Regions from separate parts of the Homo sapiens genome. Here region 2 is linked to region 1. Evidence: promoter capture Hi-C in human tissues and cell types (Jung and others, 2019). All regions are on one chromosome and are shown on one strand. Each heading gives the region's core, a stretch centred on a gene start or on the middle of the fragment in contact. The rest is flanking DNA. Distances are from core to core; before and after follow the strand shown.

Region 1 (5,225 bases), core at 1,170-3,669:
AGGCACACACCACCACGCCCGGCTAATTTTTTGAAACATTTTTTTTTTTTTGTAGACACAGGGATTCAGCTATGTTGCCCAGGCTGGTCTCAAACTCCTGGGCTCAAGCGATCCTTCTGCCTCAGCCTCCCAAAGTGCTGGGATTACAGGAGTGAGCAACCCAACCCGGTATATTATTATTAATGTAATAATCAGTTGGTGAGCACAGTACTGCCCCCAGCCTGCCATGGAAGAAGGCAGAGCTCTAGATTCCTTCCACAAGCAGTTTCTTCTTTTTTTTTTTTTGAGACAGAATCTCGCTCTGTCAGCCAGGCTGGAGTGCAGTGGCACAAACTTGGCTCACCACAAGCTCCGCCTCCCAGGTTCACACCATTCTCCTGCCTCAGCCTCCCGAGTAGCTGGGACTACAGGCGCCCGCCATCACACTCTGCTAATTTTTTAAATATTTTTTAGTAGAGATGGGGTTTCACTGTGTTAGCCAGGGTGGTCTCGATTTCCTGACCTCATGATCCACCCGCCTTGGCCTCCCAAAGTGCTGGGATTACAGGCATGAGCCACCGTGCCTGGCCCATAAGCACTTTCTGAATGGCTGTCCTATCAGCCTGCCTCCCTGAATGGAGCCTGCTCCTTCCAGGTAATGAACTATCTCCACTTACTAACCCAACCCCAGTTACATAGGATAAAACTGAGGGTCACAAGAGGAGAAGAAACCACCCATGGGTGGGACTGGAATACAGGTCCCTGCCCGGTGGGCCAGGGCGGTTGCCCTTGCTTCAGGCTGAGTTTTGGCATTAGAATGTAAGAGTCCAGCTCCCAAGTAAGATTAAAATAGAAACACAGGCTAGGTGGGGTAGCTCACACCTGTAATCCCAGCTACTCAGGAATTCCTTGAACCCAGGAGCCAGAGGTTGCGTGAGAGGAGACTGCACCACTGCACTCCAGCCTGGGCAACAGAGCAAGACTCTGTCTCAAAAAAAATAAATAAAATAGAAACATAGGCCGGGCACGGTGGCTCGTGCCTGTAATCCCAACACTTTGGGAGGCCAAGGCAGGCTGATCACCTAAGGTCAGGAGTTCGAGACCAGCCTGCCCAACACGGTAATTAGCTGGGTGCGGTGGTGCATGCCTGTAATCCCAGCTACTCTGGGAGGCCAAGGCAGCAGAATCATTTGAACCCAGGAGGCAGAGGTTGCAGTGAGCCAAGATTGTGCCACTGCACTCCAGCCTAGGTGACAGAGAGAGTCTGTCTCAAAAAGAAAAGAAAAGAAACATAATTACCTATGGCTGTTCCTGAAGTCGCCCATGATGTAAGAGGTTTTGTGTGGCTGCCCCCTACAGAGCAGCGGTTGGCAAACTTTTTCTGTGAAGGGCCAGAAAATAAATATTTTAGGCTTTGCAGGCCTCTGTCTCAAGTACTGAATTCTGCTCTTGTAGCAAGAAAGCAGCCCGGGGCAGAACTTAAGCAAATGAGCAAGACTGTGTGACACTAAAACGTTATGTATAAACACTGGAATGTGAATTTCATATGATTTTTCACATGCCATGAAAAGTTCATTCTTCTTTTGATTTTTCCCCTAACCATTTAAAAGACATAAAAACCATACTTAGCTCAAAGGCCGTACAAAAACAATGCCCCCCTGCTTAAAGGAGGCAGAATCCATTCTTTGATTTTAGGACTAGAGATATGAAAAGCTATTATTATTTCAGAGAGGTGCCTAAGGCCTGACCGACGGCAGAGAGAAGGGAGGGTCAGTTAATCTCCCTCTGAGCATTCCGGGGTGAGGAGGGGAAAAAAGACCTTCCTTGGTGATGGATTCAGAGCCCTTATTTATTTTTGTTTGTTTTTGAGGCAGGGTCTTTCTCGTATCTTAATCTGTTTTCTTACCTGTAAAGCGGTGGCAATAATCCCTACCTTGAGCGATTATTAAGAGGGCTCAATGAGATAAAGGATGGTAAAAGATTTTGCAAAATGCGAATGTTTACTCACTTAATTGTTTCCACAGATGCGCGCTTAAGATCGCGCACTGAGTTTACTCCTCTGGGGAAGGCTTCTACGAAGTTTGATGGGACACTGTCCCTTTAAATCCTCCCCAACCACTTAAAGTGGTTGGACGAATCAGCACATGCGCATTCCTTTGAGGGGCCGGCACCTGGAGCAACAGCCTTCCCAGAGCCTGTAGAGGGGAGGTTAAAGGTCCTCCCACACAGTACTTTACGCAAGCGTAAATCATGATTGAGAGCCCTATATCATGCAGAGAGCCCAGTCCCTTTTTCGCGCCCGAAGGCTCCGCCCCGCGCAGCCAATCAGTAGGCCTCGCCCTTTGCAATAGCCAATGACAGTGAGCGTAGGGGGCGTGGCTGGGCGTCCGGAGGCGCGGCCTGGCGCCTAGAGAAGCGGCGGGGCGAGCCGGGGGCTCTAGTGAACAGCGGAGCCGGACGGGGATCGCCGGCGGGCGGCAAGCGGAGGCGGCCCAGGCCCGGCGGTCTCCGAGATGTCACGATGGCTGTGGCCATGGTCAAACTGTGTGAAAGAGCGGGTCTGCCGCTACTTGCTGCACCACTACTTAGGTCACTTCTTCCAAGAGCACCTCAGCCTGGACCAGCTCAGCCTCGATCTGTACAAGGGCAGCGTTGCCCTGCGAGACATCCACCTGGAAATCTGGGTGAGGAGCCAGGCCCGAGTCCAGGAAGGTGCGGAGGGTGGGAGCGCAGCGACCTGAGGCTCCCTGCGGCAGGATCGGGCTGGGGGATCAGGCACCGGGCGTAGAGAGGCCAGGGGAATCTTGCCCTCTCCAGGCGTCAGAGGCACCCCGGCTGGCCTCTTCAGTTCCTTACCAGAGCCAGAAACTGAGCGGGAAGGGGTTTCTGTCTCCACGGGAGGAGAAACTGAGGCTGGAGAGGGCAAGATCACCTGTCTGGAGAATGCAAGACAAACTCGTCGAGTTTGGGGGCTGAGTTAAGGAGGTTGGCTCTCGGGCTGAGGAGGGGCTGGGGAGGGAGCGTAGGAACTGAGCTGGGCCAGGGCAGTGACAGACTTGGGCCTGCGCAGCTGGTGGGGGAAGCTGGTAGGGGTCCGGAGCCCTGGCGAGGACACCTGTGGATCATGTGCCCTGACCTCTTGACCCCACGGTCCTGAGCCCGTAGGTGGGATCAACAAACCACCGGATGTGTATGTCAACAACCGCGTCAGTACGTCAGTACCAGTGTTGATCAACACCTCGTGTGCCTGGGTCGCTGCCTACTTCCTGCTTTTGGGAGAGTGGGATGGGCCAAGTGGGTGTCTAGGGAGGGACTGGATGGCCCCCACCTACATCTCCCACCGACCCCCCCGGCTCAGTGTCCCTGCCTGGAGGGAGGCCCTGGAGGAAAGGTGGGGAGATCTGGCTTCAAGCCGGGAGGAGGCCAAGGGAGATGCTAGGGAGGCCAAGAGGTGTAAGGTCAGAGGCTTGAGGCTGGGAACGGTGAGGAGCCCTGACTCACAGCTCAGCTGACCTGGGGAGCTTTGAAGGAGCCACCAATTAGAGGCGCGTCCTGGTCGATCCACCAGGTCCAGAGCAGCAGGGGTGGGCATGGAGGCAGGGACTTCTCAGTTTTGTGGCTGGACTCAGGGGGCTGCTAATCTGGGCAGAAGAGCTAGGCTTTGGGGGTAGGCCAGGCCCTGGTGAGCAAATGTGGGGTAGGATAATCGTGGGCCCTGAACTGGGGGCACCCCCCAGTGGCCTGCTGTCTGTGAATTCTGGTGTAGGAAGCCCTCTCTGACCTCTAACCTTAGCCTCAGCCTCTAAGGCCGTCTCTAGGCTGCCCCTTTTTTATTTTTATAGAGACAGGATTTCGCTATGTTGCCCAGGCTAGCCTTGAACCCCTGAAGGGATCCTCCCACCTCAGCCTCCCAAAGTGCTGAGATTATAGGCATGAACCACCATACCCAGCCCTAGGCTTCCCCTTTTTACTTTCAGCTCCAGAAAACGCCCCTACTCCTGTTCCCTGCCCTCTTGTTGGGGATTGAATTGGCTTCTCTAGGGCCCTGGTGGAATGCAGGCGCTTTCTTGATAACCAGCCCCTCCTCCCTCCCAGCTCAGCCTGCAGGCCCCGCCTTGAAGGCCCCCAAAGAAACTGAGTATCTGGGGCCTCTGAAGTGGCATGAAAAGAAAGAGGCCCGCATCCCAGTCTCAGTCCCTGTTGTATACTGGGTGACTAGATTAGTCCTGTCTCTAGGCCTCAGTTTCCCGAGCTGTGGGTCTCTGGGTGAGGAATTTGGACTCCCATCTGCTCTGCCATGTGCTTTTTTATTCTTGGATCCAACCAGTTTACTGAGGCCCTTTCTGGGTGGCACCTGGGGTGACGGGGGAGGCAGGTGGGGTACAGCCCTCCAGGAGCTTCCAGGTTGGCAGGGGTACAACTCCAGCATGGACATTTTAGCCAGGGGCTCAGCCTTGTGCCTCACAGAGAGGCACAGCTACACTAGGTGTTTGGGGTTGGTGGTGGGGGGGGGGGGTCCCATCTGGCATTAGGTCAGCCCCTCTCTTGGACACTGTCCCTTTGAACTCTGCTCATCCAGGGTGAACATGGGTATTCTGGACTCTGCCATACATGTGCCCATGTTGTCCTGTGCCTGCAACACACCACCTTCTACCAGCGCCTATCCCCCCTCCCTTTATTCTTCAGCTTGCCCCTCCTCTGACGGCCCAGGCTGGGTTAGGCGTCTTCCCCACGGCCCCCCCACCAGCCCCCTCACCACCCCCAAGCACCTGCTCACCTCTTGAGTTTCATCCTAGTTGCTCTGAGTCCCTGGCTGGAGCCTAGCTTGGCTGGGGAATGAAGACATTTTATTTACCCATCTAGTCTCAGTGTCAGCATGTAGAAAGTGCTCGGTAAATATTATCTTGAATTAAGTGGTGAGGGAAACATCTGCTCTGGCTTGAAGGATTAGGCACCTTTGGGTGACGGGGTAGGGGGGCTGGCCTGTAGTAGGGGACAGCATGAGCATAGGTGGGACCTTGTAGATAACACGTGGAGGGACAGGGCAAGCCAAGGGTGCTCTCCAAGGCACTATGGCCAGATAAGGCTGTGCCAGCCTGTGGGATTTGGGGTTTCCCTGAGCTGGTTTTGTCTCTTGCTTGCTCCCAGTCTGTGAACGAGGTGCTGGAGTCAATGGAGTCACCGCTGGAGCTGGTGGAAGGCTTCGTGGGCTCCATCGAGGTGGCCGTGCCCTGGGCTGCTCTGCT
Region 2 (3,525 bases), core at 1,009-3,508, 430 kb before region 1:
TGCTGGCCTGGCCCCCTGATCCTTCCCCTCTCCCCACAAAACCAAAAGGAGTAGGAAGGGAGGCAGAAGATGAGAAATTCCAAGGGTGGGGAATGCTTCAGTCACTGGAGACCGACCGTAAGAGTGAGCCAGGAGAGCAATGGGAATAACAAGGTGAAGCTACTGTTCCCCCTGGGGTGGGGTGGAATGGGACAGGGCAGAACCAGGAGGGTGACCGAGAACATCCTGACTCCAGAAAAGAACACTCTGTAGCAGGAACACAGGGCCGCAGAGAGCCACTCTGGAGGAAAGAGGTGAGGCTATGCGGCACAGGGGCATGAAAAGCTCCTTGTGGACGTGGCCTCAGCTTGCTCGCTCCCAGCTCCCTGGCCTGGCTTGCCTCTAGAGGACAGGAAAACTCTGGAGACCAGAGGGGAGGCAGAACACAGAGAAGTGAGCTGCTCTCCCACTCTTTCTAGGAGGACACTGTTTGAACCCTGTGATCACCAGGGGCTGGGCCCAAGGCAAGCAGAGTGAATGCACTTAATGGAGAGCAGAGAGAAACTGGGCCACACGCACGCCTAGGGGCAGTGTGTTGCTCCTTTCTCCCTGAGGGCCTGGGGCCAGAGGTGGTCAGAGCTGCCACCTCAGCTTGCAGCTGCCAAAGGCAGGCTGGCACAACCACCCCAAGGTTCTCTGGATTTGTGAAGGAGAGGAGGAAGAAGGGAAAGATGGGTATGAAATATGAAGTGGAGGAGAGAAACAGCCTTAGATATGTCGGGGAGCAGGTGGGTGGCCACATCAAGAGGAGTTCTGGTTCTGGTAGATGGAAGCTTTCTCTTTCAACAGGTCCAGACACAGGTGGCAGCTCCAACTTCCTGCAGAGAGGCAAAATGGGGTCAGGATGGGTCCCACACAATCCCCACCTGCTTGCAATTCCTCTGCTCTTGATACCCCATCTCTATAGCAGGATCAGCTACAGGTAGGACGAGGGATGCTCTGCAGCAGGAAAGTTCCATGGTTTCCTGAGCTGGGATAAACCTCTAAGTCTTCAAATATTATGAAATATCATCCTCTATGGAGATGAAAGAAATAATCATCTAGAGGACTTCAGAATACTGATGCCCAGGCCCTCTTGGCCCTATTAAATCAGAAGTTTTGGGAGTAGGAAGAGGGCCTGGGAAGACAGAAGTTTGTCAAGCACCTCAGTTTTAAGACTTGTGTAGTTTCACTAAAAAACACAAAATAATTGTCCCTTATATGAAAAACAATTGGGTCATTCCTTGTTTATTAATATTGACTATGGCTGAATTCTTCTAATTTTTTTTGAATAAAATTAGTCCTTAATGCCTTGAAATGATAAGCAAAATTATACCTATGCGCATTTGGACATTATTCTAGGGCTTTTATCAGCTCTTCAGAAACAGGTGACTCAAAAATGTAAGTCCTTTCTAACCCAAAGGTCAATACGGTTGGCAAAGTTTTCTGTAAAGAGCCAGAGTGTTAAATATTTTAGGGTGTGTGAGCCACATACAGTCTCATGCATTTTTTTTTTAACTCCCTTTATTTTTTTTTTTTCTGAGACAAGAGTTTCCGCTCTGTTGCTCAGGCTGGAGTACAGCAGTGTGATCTCAGCTTACTCTAACCTCTGCCTCCCAGATTCAAGCAATTCTCTTGCCTCAGCCTCTATAGTAGCTGAGATTACAAGCGCACAGCACCACGCCCAGCTAATTTCTCTATTTTTAGTAAAGATGGGGTTTTGCCATGCTGCCCAGGCTGGTCTTGAACCCCTGGGCTCAAGAGATCCCAAAGTGCTGGGATTACAGATGCGAGCCACAGTGCACAGCCAGTTTTTATATTTTTAAGGGGATTTTCTTCAGGCTAGATGCAGTGGTTCACACCTGTAATCCCAGCACTTTGGGAAGCTGAGGTGGGTGGATCACTTGAGCCCAGGAGTTCGAGACCAGCCTGGGCACCATGGCAAAACCCCGTCTCTACTAAAAATACAAAAATTAGCCGGGTGTGGTGGCATGCCTGTAGTCCCAGGTACTCAGGAGGCTGAGGTGGGAGGATTACCAGATTACCTGAGCCCGGGGAAGCAGAGGTTGCAGTGAGCTGAGATCATGCCACTCCACTCCAACATGGGCAACAGAACAAGACACTGTCTCAAAAAAAAAAAAAAAAAAGAAAGAAAGAAAAAGAAAAAGAGAAAAGAAAAGAAAACAAAACAGCTTGCAAGCTATTTAAGCTGGCTGTGGCTGGATGTGGTCCATAGGTTTTAGCTTGTAGCTTGCTGACCCTGACCTAGAACATCTGATACTTCTAGGGGTTGCCCCTCAGCTGCCTTAACACTACAGTGAGGACACTCGGGCCTGCAGCTCTCCACTACCTCGATGTCCCACAGAACTTTAATAGGAAAGCCATTCTGTAACATAGATCATCTGTTTGATGGTTTAAAAAAACAAAACAAAACAAAACATAAACATGCGACTTCTCCCCAAAGCAGATTCATAAACTGGGCCTGACAGAAGCTGAGTACTCCCCTACAGCTGCTAAAGGACTCTTAGACATTGTCAGGGGCCTCATTCTCTAGAGGGGTGACAGCAGTTTGACCGATATGTTACAAGTCAGCTTACATCACACAATGAAACACTTTCTCTTGCCTGTAATGCTGGCCCACATCCTTTGTGCACAGTAACAGCTCCTGGGCATTTGTGTTCTGAGTAAGCTACTGAATTTCTGTTGGCTTTTTTTTTTTTTTCTTTGAGATGGAGTCTCGCTCTGTCGCCCAGGCTGGAGTGCAGTGGTGCGATCTCGGTTCACTGCAAGCTCCGCTTCCCGGGTTCACGCCATTCTCCTGCCTCAGCCTCCTGAGTAGCTGGGACTACAGGCGCCCGCCACCACAGCCGGCTAATTTTTTTGTATTTTTAGTAGAGACGGGGTTTCACCGTGTTAGCCAGGATGGTCTCCATGTCCTGACCTCGTGATCCGCCCACCTCGGCCTCCCAAAGTGCTGGGATTACAGGCTTGAGCCACCGCGCCCAGCTGCTACTCAATTTCTGTACAGGAGGTGTTTATGTACAGAAATCCAGCTGGAAGGGGACTTGTGGAGATGCAACCAATTCTTGGTGCCACCACTGGTTTCAGTGAATAGCTTTAATAAATTTGGACCATTATTACAGTAAGTTATCGGAGAAGCAGACTGACCCATTCAGGCTCCAAAGTCAAGTCCCTTCCCAGTTCAGAAGGGGAAGGGATAGGAAATAAATGCTCAAATCTATCAAATTTCAAGAGTTGACTGCAGAAGTTTCACATCAGATAATCTACCACTTGAGTTTTCTGGACTGGTTGGAAGAAAATAAATCATTCCTTCTGGGTGCCTGATCTCGGCTCAGCATCTGCTTTCTTCTGGGCTGTTGATTTTCTGTTGTAAATGTAGCTGATAATGTGCAAACACTAAACCCTTTAAGTTGAAATGTTAGGAAGGCATTCTAAACTGAGCCAAGGCAAGGTGCTTTACTCCCTAATTTGGAAGAATATGTAAGT

Evidence for each region. Contacts are between HindIII fragments. The study calls those that stand out against the background at their distance.
Region 2: a contact is called between a fragment that was not itself captured here and the fragment with the promoter of ATG2A in region 1, in 1 of the 25 tissues and cell types used here (lymphoblastoid cells).

What each region holds. Positions count from the first base shown.
Region 1 is chr11:64,914,403-64,919,627 of GRCh38, reverse strand. ATG2A (autophagy related 2A) reads left to right here and starts at 2,419. Exons shown (of 41, transcript NM_015104.3): 1 at 2,419-2,663; 2 at 5,128-5,225. The coding sequence starts at 2,493. It also overlaps a transcript of PPP2R5B not described here. RefSeq lists an enhancer at 2,018-2,147 and a silencer at 2,198-2,507. The HindIII fragment of the contact is 28,686 bases long and covers 1-5,225 here.
Region 2 is chr11:65,349,015-65,352,539 of GRCh38, reverse strand. DPF2 (double PHD fingers 2) reads right to left here. Exons shown (of 11, transcript NM_006268.5): 11 at 1-857. The coding sequence ends at 781. Among named protein-coding and RNA genes, the nearest start is that of TIGD3, 4.0 kb to the left of the region's middle. The HindIII fragment of the contact is 5,512 bases long and covers 1-3,525 here.